Linked DNA regions of Homo sapiens: all the other regions are linked to region 1. Evidence: promoter capture Hi-C in 16 types of primary human blood cells and fetal thymus (Javierre and others, 2016). All regions are on one chromosome and are shown on one strand. The core of a region is centred on a gene start or on the middle of the fragment in contact, and the rest is flanking DNA. Distances in the headings are between cores, read along the strand shown.

The links. Contacts are between HindIII fragments. The CHiCAGO score rates a contact against its expected background, and 5 or more counts as called.
Region 2: a fragment that was not itself captured here is called in contact with the fragment with the promoter of PEX7 in region 1 in 3 of 17 cell types (M2 macrophages, naive B cells and total B cells); the score reaches 5.5 in M2 macrophages.
Region 3: a fragment that was not itself captured here is called in contact with the fragment with the promoter of PEX7 in region 1 in 1 of 17 cell types (M2 macrophages); the score reaches 5.4 in M2 macrophages.

What each region holds. Positions count from the first base shown.
Region 1 is chr6:136,821,342-136,824,322 of GRCh38, reverse strand. PEX7 (peroxisomal biogenesis factor 7) reads right to left here and starts at 1,731. Exons shown (of 10, transcript NM_000288.4): 1 at 1,528-1,731. The coding sequence starts at 1,657. RefSeq lists enhancers at 1,121-1,280, 662-1,394, 1,395-2,127, 2,011-2,160 and a silencer at 1,451-1,830. The HindIII fragment of the contact is 4,798 bases long and covers 1-2,981 here.
Region 2 is chr6:137,650,007-137,652,987 of GRCh38, reverse strand. No RefSeq gene overlaps it. Among named protein-coding and RNA genes, the nearest start is that of LINC03004, 14 kb to the left of the region's middle. RefSeq lists enhancers at 1-43, 2,093-2,262. The HindIII fragment of the contact is 1,065 bases long and covers 935-1,999 here.
Region 3 is chr6:137,629,089-137,632,069 of GRCh38, reverse strand. No RefSeq gene overlaps it. Among named protein-coding and RNA genes, the nearest start is that of LINC03004, 35 kb to the left of the region's middle. The HindIII fragment of the contact is 2,496 bases long and covers 312-2,807 here.

The sequences.
Region 1 (2,981 bases), core at 482-2,981:
AGGTTGAGACAGGAGGATCATATGAGCCCAGGAGGTGGAGGCTACGGTGAGCTGTGATTGCACCACTCTACTCAACCTAGGCAACAGGGTGAGACCCTGTCTCTAAAGAGAAAAAGAAAAAAGAAAAAAAGAAAACTACTACCATTATAGACTCATGAGTCTTCAGTCTAACTGGTGGGCCATGTAAATCTGAATGTGCAAGCACTAAGAGCTAATAATGAAAATAAATCAAGTATTTCTCTGAGTTTTAGAAGTAACATTTTTTTCTGCTGTAGGACAAAACAAAAAAATACAATAGACCACTGACATTATGAAATGAGTTTTTGCATCTCGCTTCAGTGCGTATAATAGCTAGGACATGAATTAAGGCAAAAGCGAGAATGAACCTACGCCTTTTCATCTAGTCCACGGACTAGATGGACTCTTTTTTTTGAGACGGAGTTTTGCTCTTCTTGCCCAGGCTGGAGTGCAATGGCACGATCTCGGCTCACCGCAACCTCTGCCTCCTGGGTTCAAACTATTCTCTTACCTCAGCCTCCCGAGTAGCTGGGATTACAGGCATGCGCCACCACGCCCGGCTAATTTTGTATTTTCAGTAGAGATGGGGTTTCTCCATGTTGGTCAGGCTGGTCTGGAACTCCCGAACTCAAGTGATCCGCCCACCTCGGCCTCCCAAAGTGCTGGGATTACAGACGTGAGCCACCGCACGGCGCTTGGCCTTTTTTCTTTTTAAGACGGGGTCTCAGTCTGTCACCCAGGCTGGAGTGGAGTGATGTGATCTCAGCTCACTGGGCTGGGGCAGAGTGATGTGATCTCAGCTCATTGTAGCCTCAACATCCCGGGCTCAAGCGATCCTCCCGCCTCAGCCTCCTGAGCAGCTTTAACCACAGGCTGAGCCAATGCGCGCGACGGGAGACAATTAACTGGAGTCTGTAACACCTACTTGCGAATGTGTGCATTCCTCGTTAGACAACTACAGGTAAGAACTGAACTTGATATATTTCATGGTGTCACCCGTGGGACTCCAGGCGTCCATTCAGGAGCATCGTCCTTAGGAAGGCCAGCCCGCAGGTCGCAGCTCAGTGCTCGAATGCAGACTGGGAATTGTGGGCCAACTCGCGAGCCCTGGGTCGGTTCTGGCTCAGACCGTCTTCCCCGTACTGCTGTGCCGAGCGGACCGATCCAAGGGACCGCGCAGGCTCCCCCGGCTCTCCCTACGGGGACGTGTGCCTGGGCGTGTGACACGTGGCGGAGGCAGCGCGGTCTCAAGGAACAAGGACACGGGCTACTAGGCTACACGTATATGCACTTGCACACAACTGGAAGATCGACTCCTGCTTCAGACCAACTCCTCGCACTCGGCAAAGAAAGGAGAAGCGCCGACCAGCGCCTCTTCTGCCCCCTGGCGTGGACCCGCGGAACCGTCTACGCTCAGAGGGGCTTTCCCTCGAGCGCGAGGAACTGGAGCCCGGCTGGCCCCCGCCTCCGCCTCCGCCCCCCGGCCCCAGCTGCGCGGCGCCGCCTCACCCGCGATGCCGTAGTGCTGCGCGGTGGCGCAGGCCAGGCGGCCCGGCAGGTACGGGGAGAACTCGGCGGCGTAGCCGTGGCGTCCCGGCGTCCGCAGCATCCGCGCCGCTCCACCGCACACCGCACTCATCCCGCCCGCCGCCCCCGGCCCTCGCTGCCCCGGCCGCGGAAGCCGTTCCGAGTCGGAGGCACACTGGCGCGGTTAGAGAGACCAGGCAGACCGGACGGAAGTGTGGGCCCCGTGCCCTGTGTTTGAGATTCTGATTGGTCCGCACAGGAAAGGGCGTTGACTCCGACGGAGACCATTTTTGTTTTGGGTGAATCCAAACTGAATTGCGCCTGCTGCAAAGATACAGATCTATCAGGGGAGTGATCCAGGGTTAGGTATTATTAATAATTACGACAGCTTTTGTCGTTGCATCTCAGCCTCCTCTGCGGTGCTATCTGGTTTTTATTTCATTGAGCGTTTGGAAGACTGGCATCAGGAACTTTTCCTGATGATTATAAAGTGAGAAAAGTTACAGCCGACTCTGAAACCACGCAGCGCGTCCAAAATTGCGTGCTGCGTTGCCCAAGGAAACTGGAAGCAATGAGAACTTAAGTCCGTGGAGTCACTGCGGTCTTTAGGAATAAGAGCGTGGGCTGGTGGGCTACTTTCACACTGTAACTGGAAAAGATGAAACACCAACTCCAAACCAACTCCCCATGCTTGGCAAGTGAGAAAAAGGAGCTGGCCAGTTCTAATGAAGCTAAGCAAAAAAGCAGCACATCATCATATACAACTTTTTTAAAAAGTATTACTATACATGTATATATTGTATGGTAATAAGTGCTCAGATGCTGGTGCTCATTCATTCATTTATTGCCAGGCATATACTATGTGGAGAATGACCAAATATAATTTATCTGCCAAACCAAGATACTTTTGAGAGTAAAGAGGGTGTAATTATTAAGCCAGGTCAACAGGCACAAACCAAGTCGTATGATCATCTTAACCATATACCAAGAACAGTACTAGGCATTTGGGATTCAAAATAATGGGATATGGTCCATGGCCTCAAGAGATTAGAGAAGAAGACTAAAAGAGAAGTCATGTAATTAGTTAAGTGTAATCAAAATACTGTAGAGGCTATGATAAATTTATATGGGGTATTTTTAAAAGGTGATTGTCCGTGCCAGAGGTATGGAAATTGCAGGAAAGGCTGCAGAAGAGAGATAAGTCTTTATGGTGATTGCACACAGATGAGTAGGTTTTCTTTAGGTAGACAAGAAGATGGAGATCTTTGTAGGAGCAGGAATAACATGAGCAACCCAGGAGATTTAAACCAGCATGATCCATAGGGGGTCGTGGCTGCCAGGACTCAGCCTGGCCAGATGGAAGGGATACGGTGAAAAAAATATTGGGTGGGGAGACTGTAGAGTGTTTTACTGGGGCTAGATCATGAAGAGTCTTA
Region 2 (2,981 bases), core at 218-2,717, 830 kb before region 1:
TGCACCCCAGACAGTAGAGAATGGGGAGCAGGGAGCTGCCCCACCCAACTGTCCCATACACATGCCTGTGGCCATTGGGGTGTGTGTGAACCACCTCCAGTATTGTAAAAAAAAAAAAAGTTTTCATGTCATTAATGTCCTGAAAAAAAGAAGAGGAATGCCATAGGACCAAAAGGCTCAGAAGCGAATGTGAGAGGTTTTGAGTCCCCATTTCACTCACCCCTTCTCAAGCCCTATGTTCTGGGCACCAAAGCTGTTGTAGGACTTTTTCCTTAGTTGAGCTAAAGACAGCGTCCTTGCCACATGACCAAGAAAAATTAATCTCACAGACAGTTTGAAGGGTGAGGAGGGTAGTGTTTTATTGGGTGAAAAGGAAAAAAACTCAGCAAAGTGAGAGAGGCTCCCCATCTCACAGACTGAGTCCCCAGGTTATCACACTGGATCAGGAGAGGCCAGCCAGGCTCTTCCTCCCCTGCAAATGGCGCAAACTTCCTGAGGCTCCGCCCCAGTGCACACTCCTCACAGTGCACAGGCCAGTTGGAATTTCTCCGGGGACCCCTTTATACTTGGCTGTCTTGGTGAGTCACTTTGTAGGCCAAATAACTGAAAGGTCTTCAATCAATACAAAGACTTGAGATAGTAAATATAAAGCTTCAGGCAGATTATTTCAGTAGATTGTGGCTTCTGCTCTCCAAATATAAGGTTAGAGGGTCATATGGCATGATGAACAAAGCCCCTTCTAGGTAAAACACACTGTCAGTCAGTGCCAGCATTGCCCACAGAATTCCTGTCCCTATCTCTCTGCCATCCCACACCACGCCACATCATCCTTGGCCTATTCTCCCCTACAGGACTTTGCATGTGGCATGCAGACAGTCTCCCTTTTCATTTGTTTTCTAAGGCATTATGTGATCACCCAGAGAAGGAGTAAGCTTCATTCAGGTTCCTGTCCTTCTACTTTGGGCCCCAGAATCTGGTCTGCTGTCCATGGATTCAGGGAGTGACAAGGGGATAATGCCTGCTAAGACATTCTCATCTTCAGTTGAGGTGTCCTTTTTTTTTCATTTAAGAATTTTTTTTTATTGAAGTGCAGAAAGTTGCACATATTCGTTGCATACCACTCAACAAATTTTAATCAACTGACCCATCACCTGATTAAGCAATAGACAATTACCTGTACCTGGCAACTCCCTACCTGCTCTTTCAAACCTTCCCCACCCCCGCAACAAAGGTCAGCACTACCTGTGTTGTAACCGAGCGAGTTATAGAGAAACACCACACTTTGAGACTAATTCAGGAGTCCTTTATTGCCGGGGACCGAGAGACGACTAGAGCTCAAAAATTCTCTCAGCCCCGAAGAAGGGGCTAGATTTCTTTTTATACCTTGGTCTAAATAGGGGAGGGGGAGTCTAGCTGAAGCAATTTTTACAAAAGCAGAACAGGCAAAAAGTAAAAGATAAATGGTTACAGAAACTGTTACAGGAAAATAAAAAGTTCCAGGTGCAGGGGCTTAAGCTATCACAAAGTGATAAACGCAGGGGCTTTGGGTACCATCAACCAAGCACGTTTCCAGGAGTGGGTAGTACAGCTTGCCTCAGTATCTTATCAGTAAGCAATTCCTGGATGTACTTGGAGTTAGCTTGCACCAGTTATGTCCTTAAGCAGGGGGAACGAGGGGCTGCAAGCGAAGAAACCAAAGTGGAGTCTGTCCTGCTCTCTCAGATAAGAGAGAGTCAATCAGGTTAAAACAAGGTAGGGTATCACACCTGGACTTCTCCCAGCACAGATTTGTTTGATCTGCTTTTGAACTTTGTATAAATGGACTCAGACAGCTTACATGTTTTTGTGTCTTGCTTCTTTTTTCAACAATATGATTGTGAGATTTATCCATCTGTTGCATACAGTAGTAAATTGTTTATTCTCATTGCTGGATCATATTCCATTTGATTAATATTTCTGATTACTTTATTCCTTCCACTATTAATGTCAATGGGAAGCTTCCAGTTCAGGTCTATTACAAATAGCACTGCTATAAATAAATACTCCTCTTTTTAGGTGATCACATGTTCCTATTTCTGTTGGGTGAGCACCTAGGAATAGAATTGCTAGGTCATAGGCTATGCATAAGTTCAGCTTTAGTAAATATTGTTTGTTTTTTCACTTCTTTCTCCTCCTCCTTCTCCCTTTTCTTCCTTAAGCATCTTTTTGACAACAACAACAACAAAAAAAACCCATGCATGCTGGCCTCATAGCCTCATGTTTATAGATAAACTGCCACCAGCTTGATTGCCGAAATTAGCCAGCCTCAGGCTATTCTCCTGCCGTTTTGAAAAGGCCAGCTCCTTTTCACTCTCTCATCCTGCAGGGTAAAGTGGCCATCAGCCTTGTACATATTTCATGTTAGCTTAAGGGTCTCTATTGCTGATCCTGAACTTTGCAGAGACAAAATTCTGCTAAAAGATAGATGGATAGAGAGAGAGAGACAGAGATGATAGATAGACAGGTAGATAGATAGATAGATAGATAGATAGATAGATAGATAGATAGAATATATAATCTATAAATTATATATACTGTTATATATGTGTATATATACACATGTATATATACACTTATGTATACACACCTAGATAGGTAGATAGAATATATATCTATATATTATACTAGAATATGTACTAAGTTATATATGTATATATACCTATGTATACACACATAGATAGAATATATAATCTATATATTACATATACTAAATTATATATGTGTATATATACACGTGTATATATGCATATGTAAACACACATAGGTAGAGAGATAGATAATAGGTATAATATATATCTATATATTATAACATATACTAAGTTATGTATATGTGTTTGTGTGCATATATATATGTGTATATATATATATGTATAGATAGATAGATAGATAGGCATCAAGAGGCTCTGAGTTTGAATCCTCCTTCCATTCTTTGTTACTGAGTG
Region 3 (2,981 bases), core at 310-2,809, 810 kb before region 1:
TAATCTAGGCAAGGGCCAAAGTTAGCACATTTCAGAAATGGTATTAAGACCTGCACTGTATCTGGGTGAGGAAACAATACTTATGTTTTATTTTCAGAGTCCCCTCTGATTCAGAGCAGACTAGGGGAGGAGTGGGAGCAGAGCTGAAAGTGAACTTGCAGTAGACCACCATACACTTCAAGGAGAATTGACTTTTTCCCTAACAGAAAAAGGGAAAGTTTCATGCTTTAAACTGTAGAGTACATGCCTGTGTGTCTTTTATTTTTCACTTATGTTTAATTAGATCTGAGAACAGGCTTACTGCTAAAGCTTAAATAATTAACTAGCATTTATTTGTAAAAGATAGATGGCCATAACATCATCTAGCAAAGTGGAGAAAATATAACTGGATTCTGTCTCTATCAAGAACATCCAGAAAGAGAGAGAGGTAACCTGGAAACTCTGTCAGAGGATAGTTCTTAGTCAAGGTAATCGCACAATACAACCTCTGCTTTACCATATAAGGAAATTAAACTTCTGGCTCCAGTTGCTGCCAGAAGTACTGACTATGGTAACTCCTGCTGTACAGCTCTGGCTCATCAGACCCTGCAACTCCAGCTTCCTTCCAGCCCTAAGGTGGTAGCAGCTTGCTGCTATTGTATTGCTAAGCACTGGGTTGTTTCTCGCTGCTCCTTATTTGGCTTCTCAGCTTTCCCATTATTGGTGAAACCAATTCCCTGTAACAAACTTTCTCATTGTGAAATATCTATGATGGTTTCTGGTTTTGTTTTTGTTTTCTTCCCAGTGGGTATCTGAATGCTATAGAGAGAATAAGAGAACTCTATACACACTTTAGAAATGAGAAAGAGAAAGTCCTATTTCTATCTTCCTATTTTAACATTGTTTAGGCTATTATTTCGTTATTTTGTGTCTTTCTTAATAGGTAGCTTTATGAAGCAAGCAATACATCAGCAAACAGATCTTGAGCACTTCCTTTCTATAGTGTACTTTAGTCATCTCTAAAAAATAATCTGATAGAACTGTTGCTTTCAGCTCACTATCACAGCAAACAATTGCAGCTCACCCTGATAAAGATAGCTGCAAATGGAATTTCCTGGACTCCACCTGTCTTCTGAGGCTTTCAGCTGTCTATGCCATATCCTCTCACATCCAGACACAAGAGTAGAGGCTGGAGCATTGTCACAGCACCTTAGGACCTTCCACGTCCTGCCTAAGTATTTCACTGACCACTGTGAGCCCAGGAATTGCCAAGGGAGCAAGTCCAACCACAGCTGCAGCAGAGTGCACTGACAGGGCAGGCCCATAATGGGCACTTGCCCATCTGTTGTGCAGTTAGTTTTTGGCCTTTTTAATAGAGTAGTGTTAGAAACATTGTAACAACTGAACATCCACACCTAAGGGGTCAGAGATGGCCTCATTAATAGGGGACCCTAAGGCAGCCCTTACTTGAAACTCTCCAAGAGAGATATACGTGTATTTTCTGTCCTTCAGAAAATGCAATTTTTTTCTGGACACATTTCTAATGATTTCACTTAATAACCACGTTTTATGTAGCTTTGAATTACTAGAGCTATCTAGTTATTATGAACCACAGGATACGATGTCAGAATCTCAAAGCACAAGAGAAATAGGACTAACTAACTTATACAAAGTAATTTGGAATTTGCAAAGTACTTTCACACTCATTAGCTCAATTTTTTTTTTTGAGATGTAGCCTTGCTCTGTTGCCCAGGCTGGTGTGCAGTGGTGCGGTCTCAGCTCACTGCAGCCTCTGCCTCCCGGGTTCAAGTGATTCTCCTGCCTAGCCTCCCGAGTAGCTGGGACTACAGGTGTGCACTGCCGTGCCTGGATACATTTGCTTTTGTAATTTTGGTAGAGACAGGGTTTCACCATGTTGGCCAGGCTGGTCTCAAACTCCTGACCCCAAGTGATCTGCCCGCCTCAGCCTCCCAAAGTGCTAGGCATAAGGTACCGCACCTGGCCCATTAGCTCAATCTCGCTGATGGTTTTGGACATTGTTCTGGCAAAAAAAGATGAGGCCTAGAAGTGCTACCTCAAACAAATGATTTCAGAATTAAAATGAGGCAATATTTTAAGTACTTTCTACTCCTGCATGGGCAAAGTCATTTTTTTTGATACAAATATTTTCTGTCTTTTGGAGAACCCTCTATAGCAGTGGCTCCCAACCTTTTTGGCACCAGGGAGTAGTATCGTGGAAGACAATTTTTCCGTGGAAGTGGGTTTGGGGAGGGGATGGTTTTGGGGTGAAACTGTTCCCACCTCAGATCGCCAGGCACTAGATTCTTATAAGTAGCCGGCAACCTAGATCCGCCGTTCACAATAGGGTTCATGCTCCTATGAGAATCCAATGGCCCCACTGATCTGACTGGAGGCGTGGAGCACAGGCGGTAATGCTCACCCACCCACGGCTCACCTCTTGCTGTGAGGCCTGTTCCTGACAGGCCACAGACCAGTATGGATCCATGGTCCCGGGGGTTGAGGACCCTTGCTCTGTAGCATACATTTGAGATCTCGTCTTATTCTAATTGTTGCAAGCAATACAACATCAGAATTTCTGGTTATGGAGTCTTGGGCCTCTTTTTACTGATTTGGAAGGAAATTTTCAAAATTTGCCTAGTTAAGCAGTTGACTCCTTTTGCTTTAGTGAGCTCAGTCTTATTATATCCAGTGTTCTTGCTATATCTCTTGATAATGAGGCTTTATACATATATATATATACACACACACACACAATCATACATACGTGTATAATGATACCTGTATATATGTATAATAATAATGAAGCTTTGTATATAAAGCCTTATCATATAAAGCCTGTGTGTGTGTATATATGTGTGTGTATATATATATATACACACATACACATACATATATATATATACACATACACATACATATATATATACACACATACTGACAGGCCACAGACCATATATATATATGTGTGTGTGTGTGTATAT